Regions from separate parts of the Homo sapiens genome. Here region 1 is linked to region 2. The links are contacts of gene promoters, found by promoter capture Hi-C in human tissues and cell types (Jung and others, 2019). All regions are on one chromosome and are shown on one strand. Each heading gives the region's core, a stretch centred on a gene start or on the middle of the fragment in contact. The rest is flanking DNA. Distances are from core to core; before and after follow the strand shown.

Evidence for each region. Contacts are between HindIII fragments. The study calls those that stand out against the background at their distance.
Region 1: a contact is called between a fragment that was not itself captured here and the fragment with the promoter of ZMYM4 in region 2, in 1 of the 25 tissues and cell types used here (psoas muscle).

Annotation. Positions count from the first base shown.
Region 1 is chr1:35,477,155-35,484,772 of GRCh38, reverse strand. KIAA0319L (KIAA0319 like) reads left to right here. Exons shown (of 21, transcript NM_024874.5): 4 at 5,561-5,807. Among named protein-coding and RNA genes, the nearest start is that of KIAA0319L, 76 kb to the left of the region's middle. The HindIII fragment of the contact is 4,433 bases long and covers 1,258-5,690 here.
Region 2 is chr1:35,267,428-35,274,213 of GRCh38, reverse strand. It overlaps ZMYM4 (zinc finger MYM-type containing 4), which reads right to left and starts at 5,505. Exons shown (of 30, transcript NM_005095.3): 1 at 5,129-5,505. The coding sequence starts at 5,167. RefSeq lists enhancers at 906-1,406, 5,676-5,735, 5,756-5,815 and silencers at 4,986-5,115, 5,186-5,545. The HindIII fragment of the contact is 5,206 bases long and covers 1,053-6,258 here.

The sequences.
Region 1 (7,618 bases), core at 2,225-4,724, 210 kb before region 2:
TATATGATTAAAAACTTAAATCGTGTTCAAAGGTTTAAAGGAAAATGAGATGACAGTTACTTAACAAATAGGGAAGTGGCTCTAACCACATTTGGTCAATATTGTAGTAGAGGTCCTAGCCAATTATAATGCAAGAAAAAGAAATGAAAGAAATAGAGATTGGAAATGAAGAAGCAAAACTGCCTTTATTCACAGATGATTGGATTATTTCTAGAAAATTCTAAAGAATCTGCATAAAAGCCACTGGAACTATTAAGTAAAGTTAGCAAGATTGCAGGATATAAGGGCAATACACAGAAATCACTTGTGTTTCTATATTAGCAATGAATAATTGGGAATTGAAGTTTTATTATTTATTTATTTTAGAGATAGGGGTCCCACTATGTTGCCTAGGCTGGCCTTGAACTTCTGGGTTCAAGCAATCCTCCTTCAGCCTCTCAAGTAGCTGGAACTCCAGGTGTGCACCACCATACCTAGCTTGAAGTTTTAAAAAATGTGTAACACCCAAAGACATGAAACACTTAGGCATAAACTTAACAAAATATGTGCAAAAACTGTATACTGAAAACTACAAAACTCTGCTGAGAGGAATATGAGAAATAAGTAATGATGTCCTCCCCTCCCCGCATTCATGTCCATCTGGAACCTCAGCATGTGACCTTATTTGGGAATAGGGTCTTGGCAGATGTAATTAGTTGAGAATCTCCAGGTGAAATCATCCTGTATTTAGGGTGGGCCCTTAATATAATGACTGGTGTCTTTATACGAGAGAAAGGAAAGGGAGCTTTGGATCCATCTACACAGACACGGAAGAAGGCCACGTGAAGAGTAGAGTTAGGTTGCCGCAAGCCAAGGAATGCTAAGAGCCTCCAGGAGCTAGAAGAGGCAAAGAAAGATTCTCCTCTAGGGCCTTCAGAGGCAGTATGGCCCTGCCAACACCTTGATTTCAGACTTCTGGCCTCCAGAACTGTGAGAGAATGAATTTCTATTGTTTTAAGCCACAAAGTTTATAGTAATTCATTATGGCAGCTCTAGGAAACAAATATAACCATGTTATACAGATTGGGATCTAGAATGATCAAAATGATTTTGAAAAAGAACAATAGAGTTGGAGGACTTAAACTATCTAGCTAGAAGACTTACTGTATAGCCACAGTAATCAAGGCAGTGGTATTGGTATAAAACTAGATTAAGTTAATGGAACATAATATAGAGTCCAGAAATAGACCCACACCTATATGGTCCATTGATGTGCCAGTGCAGTTCAGTGGGGAAGGGATAATCTTTTCAACAAATGGTGCTAGAACAATTAGATAATGATATGTAAAAACATGAACCTTGACCCTTACCTCTAGAGGAAAATCAACTCAAAACGGATCATAGATCTCAATTTAAGAGTAAAAGCTATAAAACTTATGGAAGAGAACCCAGGAGAACATTTTTGTGATCTTGCTTTGGCAAAGATTTCTTAGCCATGTCACTGAAAGCATGAACTGTAAAAGAAACAAATGATAAATTGGAGCTTATCAAAATTACAAATTTTTGTTAATGAAAAGCTAACACTAACAAAACGAAAAAGGAAGATACAGACTGAGAAAACATTTGCAAATTATATGTCTGACAAAGGACTCATTTATAGAAATAAATGAGCTCTTGTAACTTGATTAGAAAACTAGTAACCCATTTTAAAAAGCAGGCAAAAGATTGGAACAGATAGTCCACCAAAGAGGTTATACAGGTGTCCGATAAATACATAAAAAGATGTTCAATGTCGCTAATCACTAGGAAAATGTAAATTACAACCACAGTGAGATACCACTACATACCTCGAATGGCTAAAATTAAAAAGATTTCCACACCAAATTCTGTCAAGATTATATGATAACTGAAATACACTGGTGGTGGTACTATATTATGTCATAACAACTTCAGAAAATGGTTTGGCAGTTTCTTGAAACAGTTAAAGGTACATTGATCGGGGGTTCTATTTATAAGTATTTACCTAAGAGAAATAAAAGGACATGTCCATACAAAGACTTGTAGAGGCTGGGCGCAGTGGCTTACACCTGTAATCCCAGCACTTTGGGAGGCCGAGGTGGGTGGATCGCTTGAGGTCTGGAGTTCAAGACCAGCCTGACCAACATGGAGAAACCCAGTCTCTACTAAAAATACAAAACTAGCTGGGCGTGGTGGCACATGCCTGTAATCCCAGCTACTCGGGAGGCTGAGGCAGGAGAATCGCTTGAACCTGGGAGGCGGAGGTTGTGGTGAACCGAGATTGCGCCATTGCACTCCAGCCTGGGCAACAAGAGCGAAACTCCATCTCAAAAAAAAAAAAAAAAGACCTGTAGATGAGTGGTTATAACAGCTTGATTTGTAATAGCCAAAAGCTAGAATAAACCCAAACGTTCATCTATAGGTGAATGAATAAACAAATTATAGTATATAATATAAAGCAGAAAACTACTTAGCAATGCTAAGAAATGAATTATTGATACACAAAACATTTTGTTTGTATTTTGTTATTCATACAAAATAATTTTTCTGAGTGAAATAAGCCAGACTGCCCCTCTCAAAAAAAAGGGTACTTACTTTGTGATTCCATTTATAGAACCTTTTAGGAAATGCAAACTATAGAAACAGAAAGCAGGCCGGGCGTGGTGGCTCACGCCTGTAATCCCAGCACTTTGGGAGGCCAAGGCAGGTGGATCACGAGGTCAGGAGATTGAGACCATCCTGGCTAACACGGTGAAACCCCATCACTACTAAAAATACAAAAAATTAGCTGGGCATGGTGGCGGGCGCCTGTAGTCCCAGCTACTCAGGAGGCTGAGGCAGGAGAATGGCATGAACCCGGGAGGTGGAGCTTGCAGTGAGCCGAGATCGCGCCACTGCACTCCAGCCTGGGCGACAGAGCAAGACTCCATCTCAAAAAAAAAAAAAAAAAAAAAAAAAAAAGAAACAGCAGAATGGTTGCTTAGGGTGGGGAGGAGAAGGCATTACAAAGGAGCATGAGGAATCTTTGGAAGTGATGGATATGCATTAGCTTGATTGTACTGGTGGTTTCAAATGTGTATACATACATAAAAATTTATCAAATTGTACATTTTATGTATGTTCAATTTATTGTATGTCAATTATACCTTAATAAAGCTTTAAAAAGGGGGGGTAAAAATTTGGATAAACTTTACCTCTTTGCCTCTTCAAAGAAAAAATGGTCAATAAGCACAGGAAAATATGCTCAATATTATTAGTCATCAGGAAAGTCATCAGTGATATATTACTTTATAACCACTAGAATGACAAAAAATAAAAAGACCAGGAATACCAAGTGTTGGTGAAGTTGTAGAGCAACTGGAACTCTCGTATGTTGCTGGTAGAAATATAAAATGTACAGCCACTTTGGGTAACAGTTCATAGTTTCTTACAAAGTTAAACATATACTTATGTATAACCAGCAATTCTCCTAAGTAACTACCTAAGATAAATTAGAACACGTGTTTACAGAAACATGTATACTTAAACATTCATAGCAGTTTTTATAACTAAGAACGGAAAACAACTTAAAATTCCATCAGTAGATAAATGTAAACCAAATTTTTGTGTATTTCTATAATGGAAAACTACTCAGTAATAAAAAAGAATGTACTACTGATATGCACAATATCATGAATAAATTTCAAAAACGTGTTGAGTGAAAGCCAGAAACAAAAATAGTATGTATATGCTTCCTTTTATATGAAATACAAGAAAACCCAAACTAATCTCACTTTGATAGCAAACAAATCAGTGGTTTCCTGAGCCTAGAGATGGAGACAGGGATTTATTATAAAGGGGCATGAATGAATTTTGGGGGCTGATAGAAATGTTCTCTCTCTTAATTGTGGTTACATGGGTATATATATTTATCAAAACTTTGACCTTATATACTTGAAATGTGTGTAGTTTATGTGAATTATATTTCAACCAATTTGATTTTTTTTTTTTGAGACAAGAGTTTCACTCTGTCGCCCAGGCTGAGGTACAGTGGCATGATATCGGCTCACTGCAGCCTCCGCCTCCTCTCGGGTTCAAGTGATTCTTGTGCCTCAGCCTCCTGAGTAGCTGGGACTACAGGCGTGTACCACCATGCCCAGCTAAATTTTGTATTTTTAGTAGAGATGGGGTTTCACCATGTTGGTCAGGCTGGTCTCAAACTCCTTACCTCAAATGTTCCACCTGTCTTGGCCTCCCAAAGTGCTGGGATTACAGGTGTGAGACACCACACCCGGCCGAATTTGATTTTTAAAAAATCCATACCACCACCCTTGTTTCGCTACTCATTATTTCTCATTTGGATGAAAGCAGTACTCTTCTAAGTGATATTCCTGCTATTGCCTTACTTCTTCAAACCCATACGCTAAGAAATGACTTGTAAGACAGAAACTCGACCTTGTTACTTCCTTGCATACAACCCTTAAATTGCTTACCATTACTTAGTTTCTTAAAATAACATGTAATGCTTTTTTCCATCTGGTCTTTGCCTCTATCTTTCCAGCTCATCTTCTATTACTTTTGCCTCTCACTTTGCTTATGGCTGTCAGTTCCCAATACAGACCATGTTAATTTCATTTTTTGTGCCTACATTCATTCTCTGCCCTCTGCCTTTTGTCTAGTAAACAACTGTTTATCCTCTAAAACTCAGCTTAGGGCTCTTCTCCTTCAGGAAGCCTTTTTCTTTAATAATAATAATAAAAAAATCATTCTTTTCCATACTCTTTCTCCCTCAAAGGGAGATGGATTAAGTAACTTTAGCTTGTGTTTTTTTTTTTTTTTTTTTTTTTTTGGCTCATCATAAACATTGGTATATTTACTTTTTTTTTTTCTTTTTGAGACAAGGTCTCATTCTGTCACCCAAGCTAGAGTACAGTGGCATGATCACAGTTCACTGCGGCCTTGACCTCCCAGGCTCAAGCGATTCTCCCACCTCAGCCTCCCAAGTAGCTGGGACCACAGGCATGGCCACCATGCCCAGCTAATTTTTTATGTTTTGTAGAGACAGGGTCTCGCCATATTGTCAAGGCTGGTCTTGAACTCCTAGGTTCAAGTGGTCTCCTGTCTTGGCCTCCCAAAGTGTTGGGAGTACAGGCGTGAGCCACCATGCTTAGCTGGTATATTTACTATTTTGGCTTATTATGCTTTCAGTGCTCAACGATTAGTTTTATTTATATTTTGGATCCACAAGGGCTATTTTGTAATAGGTGCTCAATAAGTATTTGTAGAAAGATTGAATAGAAATGTTAACAGGGTAAAAGTATACATTGTTTTGCTTTTCCAGCACACTTAGAATGCAGAAAATTACTATTTTGTTTTAAACAAAACATTTTGGCTAGGAAAAAAACTCAAGATTTATCTCAACATTTAACACCACTTTTATTTGGGTGGTGAGATTAGTTTCTTTAATATTTTTGATATTTTTGCATTTTTCAAGAGAACATTTAATAGACTATTGTTTCATGAGACATAACCTGAAAAATTATGTAACTTTTACCTACTCAAATTAGTTTTTTTATTTCTTTAGGTCCACAAGGCGATTACAATTTCCAGTCCCCTAACCACAGACCTGACTGCAGAGCTGTCTGGTGGGCCAAAGAATGTATCAGTGCAACCTGAAATATCAGAGGGTCTTGCTACTACGCCCAGCACTCAACAAGTAAAAAGTTCTGAGAAAACCCAGATTGCTGTCCCCCAGCCAGTGGCTCCCTCCTACAGTTATGCTACCCCTACCCCCCAGGCCTCTTTCCAGAGCACCTCAGCACCATACCCAGGTAAGGACCTTTGCTCTTGGAGATAGAAGGAAAAAGTAGAACATTTGATCAAAGTATTCCCTTTTAGAGGAAAGAAGGAAGGGAGGCATAACTTGAATACTGTGTGTTAGAGAAAAAATAACTCTGTCATTGCCCCTGCAGTCATGGACTGGGGGCTCTAGAGCCTTTCCTCAGCAGGCCTCCAGCTTATGGAAATTTACGAGGCTAATTTTCACAGATCCAGATTCCACTGTGACTTAAAGGCACATGATTCAATTAAGTATAATGTTCAAGTGATCAATCAGAGCCTACTGGGAAGAAAGATTTGGATCAGTGTATTTGCTTACCTTCTGAAAGTCTGGTTGTAGGTCTCTCATTTTTATAGCATCTTTATTTTAATTTTTATTTATTTTTAAAACTTTTAATTTTTGTGGATATATAGTAGTTGTATACATTTATGGCATACATGAGATACTTTGATGCAGACATGCAATGTGTAATAATCACATCATGTAAAATAGAGTATCCATCCCTTCAAGCCTTTATCCTTTGTGTTACAAACAATCCAGTTATATTATTTTAGTTATTTTAAAATGTGCAATTAAAATATTATTGACTATAGTCACCCTGTTGTGCTATCAAATACTAGGTCTTATTTGTTCTTTCTAGCTTTTTTTTTTGTACTCATTAACCATCCCCCCCTCCCTCTTACCCCCACACTACCCTTCGCAGCCTCTGGTAACCATCCATCTATCTAACCATTACTCTCTATCTCCATGAGTTCAGTTGTTTTGATTTTTAGATTCCACAAATAAGTGAGAACAAGCAGTGTTTGTCTGTGCCTGGCTTATTCACCTAACATAATGACCTCCAGTTCCATCCATGTTGTTGGAAATGACAAAATTTCATTCTTTTTTATGGCTGAGTAGTACTCCATTGTATATAAGCACCACATTTTCTTTATTCATTCATCTGTTGATGGACACTTAGGTTGCTTCCAAAGTTTGGCTGTTGTGAACAGTGCTGCAAACATGGGAGTGCAGATACCTCTTCGATACACTGATTTCCTTTCTTTTGGGTATAGACCCAGCAGTGGGATTATTGAGTCACATGGTAACTCTATTTTTATTTTTTTGAGGAACCTCCAAACTGTTCTCCATAGTGGTTGTACTAATTTACATTCCCACCAATAGTGTACGAGGGTTCCCCTTTTCTCCACATCCTCACCAGCATTTGTTATTGCCTGTCTTTTGTATAAAAACCATTTTAACTGGGGTGAGATGATATCTCACTGTAGGTTTTTTTTTTTTTTTTTTTTTTGAGACAGAGTCTCACTCTGTTGCCCAGGCTGGAGTGCAGTGGCGCAATCTCGGCTCACTGCAAGCTGCGCCTCCTGGGTTCATGCCATTCTCCTGCCTCAGCCTCCCGAGTAGCTGGGACTACAGGCGCCCACCACCACGCCCAGCTAATTTTTTGTATTTTTAGTAGAGATGCGGTTTCACCGTGTTAGCCAGGATGGTCTCGATCTCCTGACCTTGTGATCCGTCCGCCTTGGCCTCCCAAAGTGCTGGGATTACAGGCGTGAGCCACCGCGCCCGGCCATCTCATTGTAGTTTTTATTTGCATTTCTCTGATGATCAGTGATGTCGAGAACCTTTTCATATGCCTGTTTGCCATTTGTAGGTCTTCTTTTGAGAAATCCCTGTTCAAATATTTTGCCCATTTTTAAATGGGATTATTAAATTTTTTCCTGTGGAGTTGTTTGAACTCTTTATATATTCTGGTTATTAATCCCTTGTCAAATGGGGAGTTTGCAGATATTTTCTCCCATT
Region 2 (6,786 bases), core at 4,256-6,755:
AAGAGTCAATACTTTCTAAAAGCAAATTATTCACATTGCATACATATAAACCGCAAATATTGTAATGATATGTACCGCCATGTTTTTAAGTAATACATTTAGCAAAAAGACAGAAAAGAGAAAAAGTTAATTAAGGAATTAAGAGGGATCAATCTTTTGCAATTATTTTATTATAAAATATTAAAATAACAGAAATTCAAAATAAAACTTCTCCATATCCCATCACATCATGAAGTCAATGCTTTCATTTGTTCGTATTTTCTACTGTCTATATGTGTGTTCAATTTTCACAGATTTATATATTAATAGATAACATTTTATAGTCTACATTTTCACTTAGCATTATACCATGAATACTTTTTCCACTTTGTGAAATTTGCACCCTTATACTCTCTTTCGTTTCTCCTCCCTACCCACTGAAGGTAATCAGTGGTAATATCCCAAACTGTGTCCTCCACAATTTTCTCTAAGTTCATACATGTACAAGCATATACAGACACAAATGTGGGGAGGCAAGAAAGGTCGTTTTGTTTTGTTTTTCACAAAAAATGGAAGCATACTACTTATACATATGCTTTCTCTCTTTTTTAAGCATACCAGGTATATACATCTCAAATTTAATACACACAGAATTTTAAGTATGAAAATGAATACAATTTACTAGACCGGGTAATATTTACATTTACAAAAGTTATTATTTTGTATGTAAACTTTGAAAAGACAAGGATTTTACAACAAAATATGGCCGCCCGATTTAGTTAGACCTCATACTTCATAACATACTGGTTATTATAATAGCCATGCATAAATAATTCAATCATTTATAATAAGCCTACCTAATGAGTCTTAAAAGCTATTTGAGAAAACAAAAATTTTATCATCTAAAAAAATTAAATAATATGCCAACTTTAAAGTGTGTGTGTGTGTATGTATTTGTGTGGGTGTGATGCTTGCTGTAACGCCTTCATGTATAGGCACTAGGATATGAACTTAATTCTCTCTATACTAGAGATGATAGATGAATATAGCGCTGATCCACCCACATACTCAGCTCCCCCGTGTTCACAAATTGAGAGACTAGCATTCCAGCATATTCTGAATACAAGTGTTCCGACTGCCCACAAATATAAAAACAAGACATCAGGCAGGCCTACCTAGAATTTAAGGTTGTTAACCCAATGGTCTTAAAATGCAGTCACCGGCTGGGCGTGGTGGCTCACGCCTGTAATCCTAGCACTTTGGGAGGCCGAGGCGGGTGGATCACGAGGTCAGGAGATCGAGACCATCCTGGCTAACATGGTGAAACCCCGTCTCTACTAAAAATACAGAAACAAAAAATTAGCCGGGCATGGTGGTGGGAGCCTGTAGTCCCAGCTACTCGGGAGGCTGAGGCGAAGGAATGGCGTGAACCCGGGAGGCGGAGCTTGCAGTGAGCTGAGATAGCGCCACTGCACTCCAGCATGGGCGACAGAGCAAGACTCCATCTCAAAAACAACAACAAAAAATGCAGTCACCTGCCCATCTAACCATAATCCAGAACAATCAGAAGATCCCTAAATCTGGATCCATAGGAGAGAACTCTGGGGAGTAAAGGACGCTATGAAAGATTTACAGAGCCCCTCAAAATTACAAAGCAGAGAACTTGGTACTCAACCCATAGAGCCTCTGCTGTACTAGGTAAGCTATTCTTACAAAAATAAGTCAGCAAGTCTTTTGAGTTCCTACTGTGTAGAGGTCACAAGATGTCCAGACGCAAAAAGCAATGAAATAGATACTATGTTAAAGGAGTTCACAATTTATCAAGAGAGCCAGCATATATTATCCTAAATGACCCTAAGTAACAAAGCACAATGCCTAGCATGTAGCTTATGAAATAGCACAGGTGCTTAGCAACTTTTTTGTGACATGATTACAAAGGTCAAAAGCAGTAAGCATCATTAAGTACAATACCATGTCATCAATGCAATTTCAGATTGAATAGCCTAAAGTTACTATCTAAGTCTATGTGGATAGTTTGTTTCAACTCCCTCAAGGCAGTCAATTTCCAAAGACATGGTACTGCATAGTCCCCATTAATCGGCTTGGAGTATACATATGGAATCCACATGTAATTTGGCACACACCAAAAAAAAGTGGAAAAAAGTACTTATATCATTTAAGACAATCATACCGAACATTCTAATGAAATATCAAAAACAAAATGAATTATGGATCAAAAAATATTATTTATGTATTATTTTTACTTTTTCTAGAGAGGGGGTTTCCCTCTGTCACCCAGGCTGGAGAGCAGTGGCAATATCATAGCTCACTGCAACCTCCAACTCCTGGGCTCAAGCAATGCTCCCACCTCAACCTCTGAATAGCGAGGACTAGAAGCATGTGCCACCACACCATTAATTCCAAAAATCAATGAATGTAATTTTCCTCTGTGATGAAACTGGCAAAATAATGGGGGAAACCTATACAAGTCCTGCGTATGTTATAGGTTGTTAAAAATAAAATTAACTTTTGGGCCAGGCCCGGTAGCTCACACCTGTAATCCCAGCACTTTGGGAAGCCGAGGTGTGCTGATCACCAGAGGTCAGGAGTTCGAGATCAGCCTGGCCAACATGGCAAAATCCCATCTTTACTAAAAATACAAAAATTAGCCAGGCATGGTGGTGCTTGCCTGTAATCCCAGCTACTTGGGAGGCTGAAGCAGGAGAATTAATTGAACCCGGGAGGCGGAGGTTGCAACGAGCCGAGATTGCGCCACCGCACTCTAGCCTGGGCAACAGAGCAAGACTCTGTCTCAAAAATAATAATAATAATAAAGTTTTTACTGCTACCAGTATGGTATCTTTTTTTTTTTTTCCAGCATTCCTTTAGCAGAAGATTCACAAGACCAGTAACATCTTTTAAGTGTACGACAAGAGGCAGAATATATTTAAAATCTAGTTGAATTTGTTGTCAACACACATCAATGTTTTCTAGAATATCCTAGAACATCCTAGTACAGAAGGTGAATGACAACATTCACAGCAACTGGATGCAGAAATCTCCCTGAATTAACATTACATATCTTAAGTAATTTACCCTGTATATTTTCATTGGTGGACTATATGCCATATGCCTTCATCCAAGCACAGTAAGGATCTAGTTCAAAACTGAACACAACTTGAAAATTTTAAAATTTCAAAACACATGCATTCCATACACAACATTTATACTTACAAAACTATTTGGACATACCATCATACAGCTTAACTTGCTCTATGACTAATTATTGCATTAGGTGAATCCAACATTTCGTAAACTTATCAATGGTAAAAATTTATTGTTCAAAACACTACGATGAAATGCATTAAAATAACACGACTGATGAACAGAAAGAGGGATAGAGGGGTAAATATATGATAAAACAAGTGGAATGCAATTTTTTTTTTGGAGGGGGTTTTGAGACAGTGCCTCCCTCTGTCACCTAGGCTAGAGTGCAGTAGCACGATCTCGGCTCACTGCTACCACCGCCTCCCTGCTACCACCGCCTCCCAGGTTCAAGCGATTCCCCTGCCTCAGCCTCCCGAATAGCTGGGATTACAGGCACCCGCCACCACGCCGGGTTAATTTTTTGTATTTTTAGTAGAGACGGGGTTTCACCATGTTGGCCAGGCTGGTCTCGAACTCCTGGCCTCAAGTGATCCTGCCGCCTCGGCCTCCCAAAGTGCTGGGATTACAGGCGTGAGCCGCTGTGCATGTCCGGAATGCAATGTTAACAGTAGGATCTAGGCGGTTGGGTGTATGACTGCTCCCCGTAAGTTTTATAATATTGACGGATAGTTCAAAATATTTTCCTAATAAATTGTTGGAAAAAATAATACTTGACACTTCTTTGGTCATTTACAATTTAAGCTTTTAAGGAGAGAAACACAGATTAAAGAAACTCCTCTGTGGCATCCCACACAGGCACTATAGTTGGGACAAACCTGGATTCAAATCCTACCTCAACCTTGCAACTAGCTGTGTGATCTAAGTAAATTACTTAAGCCCTCAACACCTAAATTTCCTCATCTGCAAATAGGTTCTAGGAGGAGTTACTATGAAGTTAAATTCTTCACATAAAGGTCTTAGCTCAGTGCCAGGCACACAGTAAGCACTCAAAACATCAGCTGTAGCATCATTACGAGATTACTAATTTTACGCTAAGCTGAAAGGGCATTCTTCATAAAGTAGTAATTTTTTGCCCTTTTGCTAATTGATCGTTTCTGAAACCATTCCCAAAAGGAAGACTCCTAAAAGGAAACTTACTTCTTATCATGCTAAGCGGGGAGGAAGTAAAAGAAAAGTGAGGGATATTGCTCAATCGATAGTACAGTATTGTTCGCCATCTGAAAAAAACCACTCAGAATTAAATAAGGAAAGTTTCCAGACAAACTTTAAAAGGTATTCAAACAACTCCTATGTAGAATTGGCTTCACCTCTGCAGGTTGATTGGGTACATCCCTGTTATGAGAAAACTTGTCGTATTCTTCCAAGTCCCTAATTGCGAGTAAGAGGCTAGGCTAGAACATGACATTCATAGTAGCCAAAATCTTTCTCCTAAATCAGGACATGCCAACGATCCCACTTCTTCACAGGTAAGACCACCACCCCGACTTTGGTCTAGATAACGGCTATGGGGGGAGGGGAAAGGAGGCAGGAAAATGAATTCGCGATGGTGTTACTGAAGAACCCTCCGGTTATTTCTCCTGAGACCCCTCCACGACTTATTCCCGCCACCACCACCCCCACCTGACCTCTCCCCAGTTAACTTCCAGACTCTGATGTACTAAAGATGCACTAAAGATGCACTTAAGAATCTGACACCTCCCCTCCCTGGGCCTAGATATCCCACCCCAGTGCTGGGGAACGTCGGGGGGAGGAAGGCAAACAACGGCCCCCTCCCCTCCCCCCCACCCAGCACCAAATCTTTGTCCCACCTGCCGAGGGACCGCTCGCCAGCGCGCTCCGGACCCAAGGCTGCCTCAGACCTGCCCGCAACCTTGTCCTAACTGGGCCTCGGCGACCCCTCCACGAACCTGAGTATGGCCCATTCCCGGCCCCGGGCCGCGCCCCGCCCCCCGCCGCCCGAGTTCTGCCTCACCTCACCTACCCTCTTTCGGGGGCCGGACTCCACCTCTCTCTCCGCCATGTTGGGCCCCGCTCGGAACCGCTGCGGCTCCCCGCGCGGTGGCGGCGGTACCTCTCGGCCCCCCGGCCCCCGCCCACACTGCAGGCACGGCCGCCTCGCGGCAGCTTCCCCGGACCCGGCCGGGCCTTGCGCCGAGAGTGGGGAGGGGGCGGATGCCGCGCGCCGGGCCGCAGCTTCTGAGATCCCACGGGTCCGCGCGTGGGCGGGAGGGCCTGCCCGGGGACGGGGTGGGGGCCGGGACTCGGGGGGTTAATGGCCTCCAAGGGGCCCCGTGAGTAGGATTATTTTCTCTCAGAGAAATTCCTCCGCCTGCGGTTTCTTAAAGGGATCACCAAATCAGCCCCTTGCGCGCGCCCCTGATGCGCAGGCGCACCCTAAGTCCCTCCTTCCTTTCCCACCAAGCCCCCGGTCCTGAGCGTGCGCGGTAAGTGGCCATGGGTAGGCCAAATCCTGCAAGTCTCTTTGCTGCCAGCAGCTGCTCCCACCACTCAACTATGGCCGCTCCCTTAAAGGGACCATGACGCAGGGATGAAGGAGAAATGAAAGAAATTACTGGAAAGACAATCTGGAGAATTGGGTGCAATGTCAGTGAAGGGTTCCACATCACCATCTTACACCTGACTACAGTGGTACCATTGAAGAGGGAAAGTCATGGTAAGCTGAAGTTCTCAGTGGACCTCTGAACATGAAGAATCCCAAACCAATGAGGGAACAAGACAGTCATCTCAAGGAAAACCAACTTTCCTCCCTTTCGACTGCCTGTTCTGAAGCACAAGGCATAGAATATCAAGAGCCAACTCCTATAACCTCACCTTAAAATCAAAGCTTTTGGTGATTTTGAAGATTGAACCAACAACTGGAAATAATTTCTTCAATAGTAATTTATCCTTAGAACATCAAAATGGAGAAGGATCTTAGGGAACCATTTACTCCAGTGCTCCCAATGATAAAATTGCAGCCTGATCATGGGAAGGAATTTGTCCCAATGTAACTAATGGCTGGTGTGGAGTTGGAATCAAGATTACAGTCTCAGTCCTCCAGGCTGTCTTCAGGCGAGAGATAAATTTGGTTTAATTTGATATCCCTAGAAGATTAAAAATTGAAGTTTCATGGTATTTGGAGAATATCATAATTCTCTTGTGAAGATGTAATGATTTGCAGATGATGGGTGTCCTCATTCACCTCTATTGAAGGAGCTTGACAATCTGCCTTAAAGGATAAGCATCTTATTTCTAAGCAGGAAACCAGGAAGTAGATTTGGGTCTATCTTGTTCCAAAACTGGGTCCTAAGCTGAAAATCGCTGAAAAGAATGAGGGCTTCATTCATTCCTCTTCTGTTCATTCTAGTTCCCACAAGCTTTGGGTGCAGAAAAAATTAAGTTTATAATGATAGTTCAGGGACAGTGGGGAGACATATAGTAAGAAATACAAAGAAGATGCCTCCTGAAGGTCATTTCCCATGACAAGACATATTCAAGTGGGAATGATAACTCCTGAAGTCACAGGATAATGAGATGTAACTTCTGTTTTCTGTTTTATTTAGCACTTGGTAGCTATTCTGAAACAGATGTTTTCTAATCTGTAATATTTTGCTGAAAACTTTTGGTGAAATTGCTGGA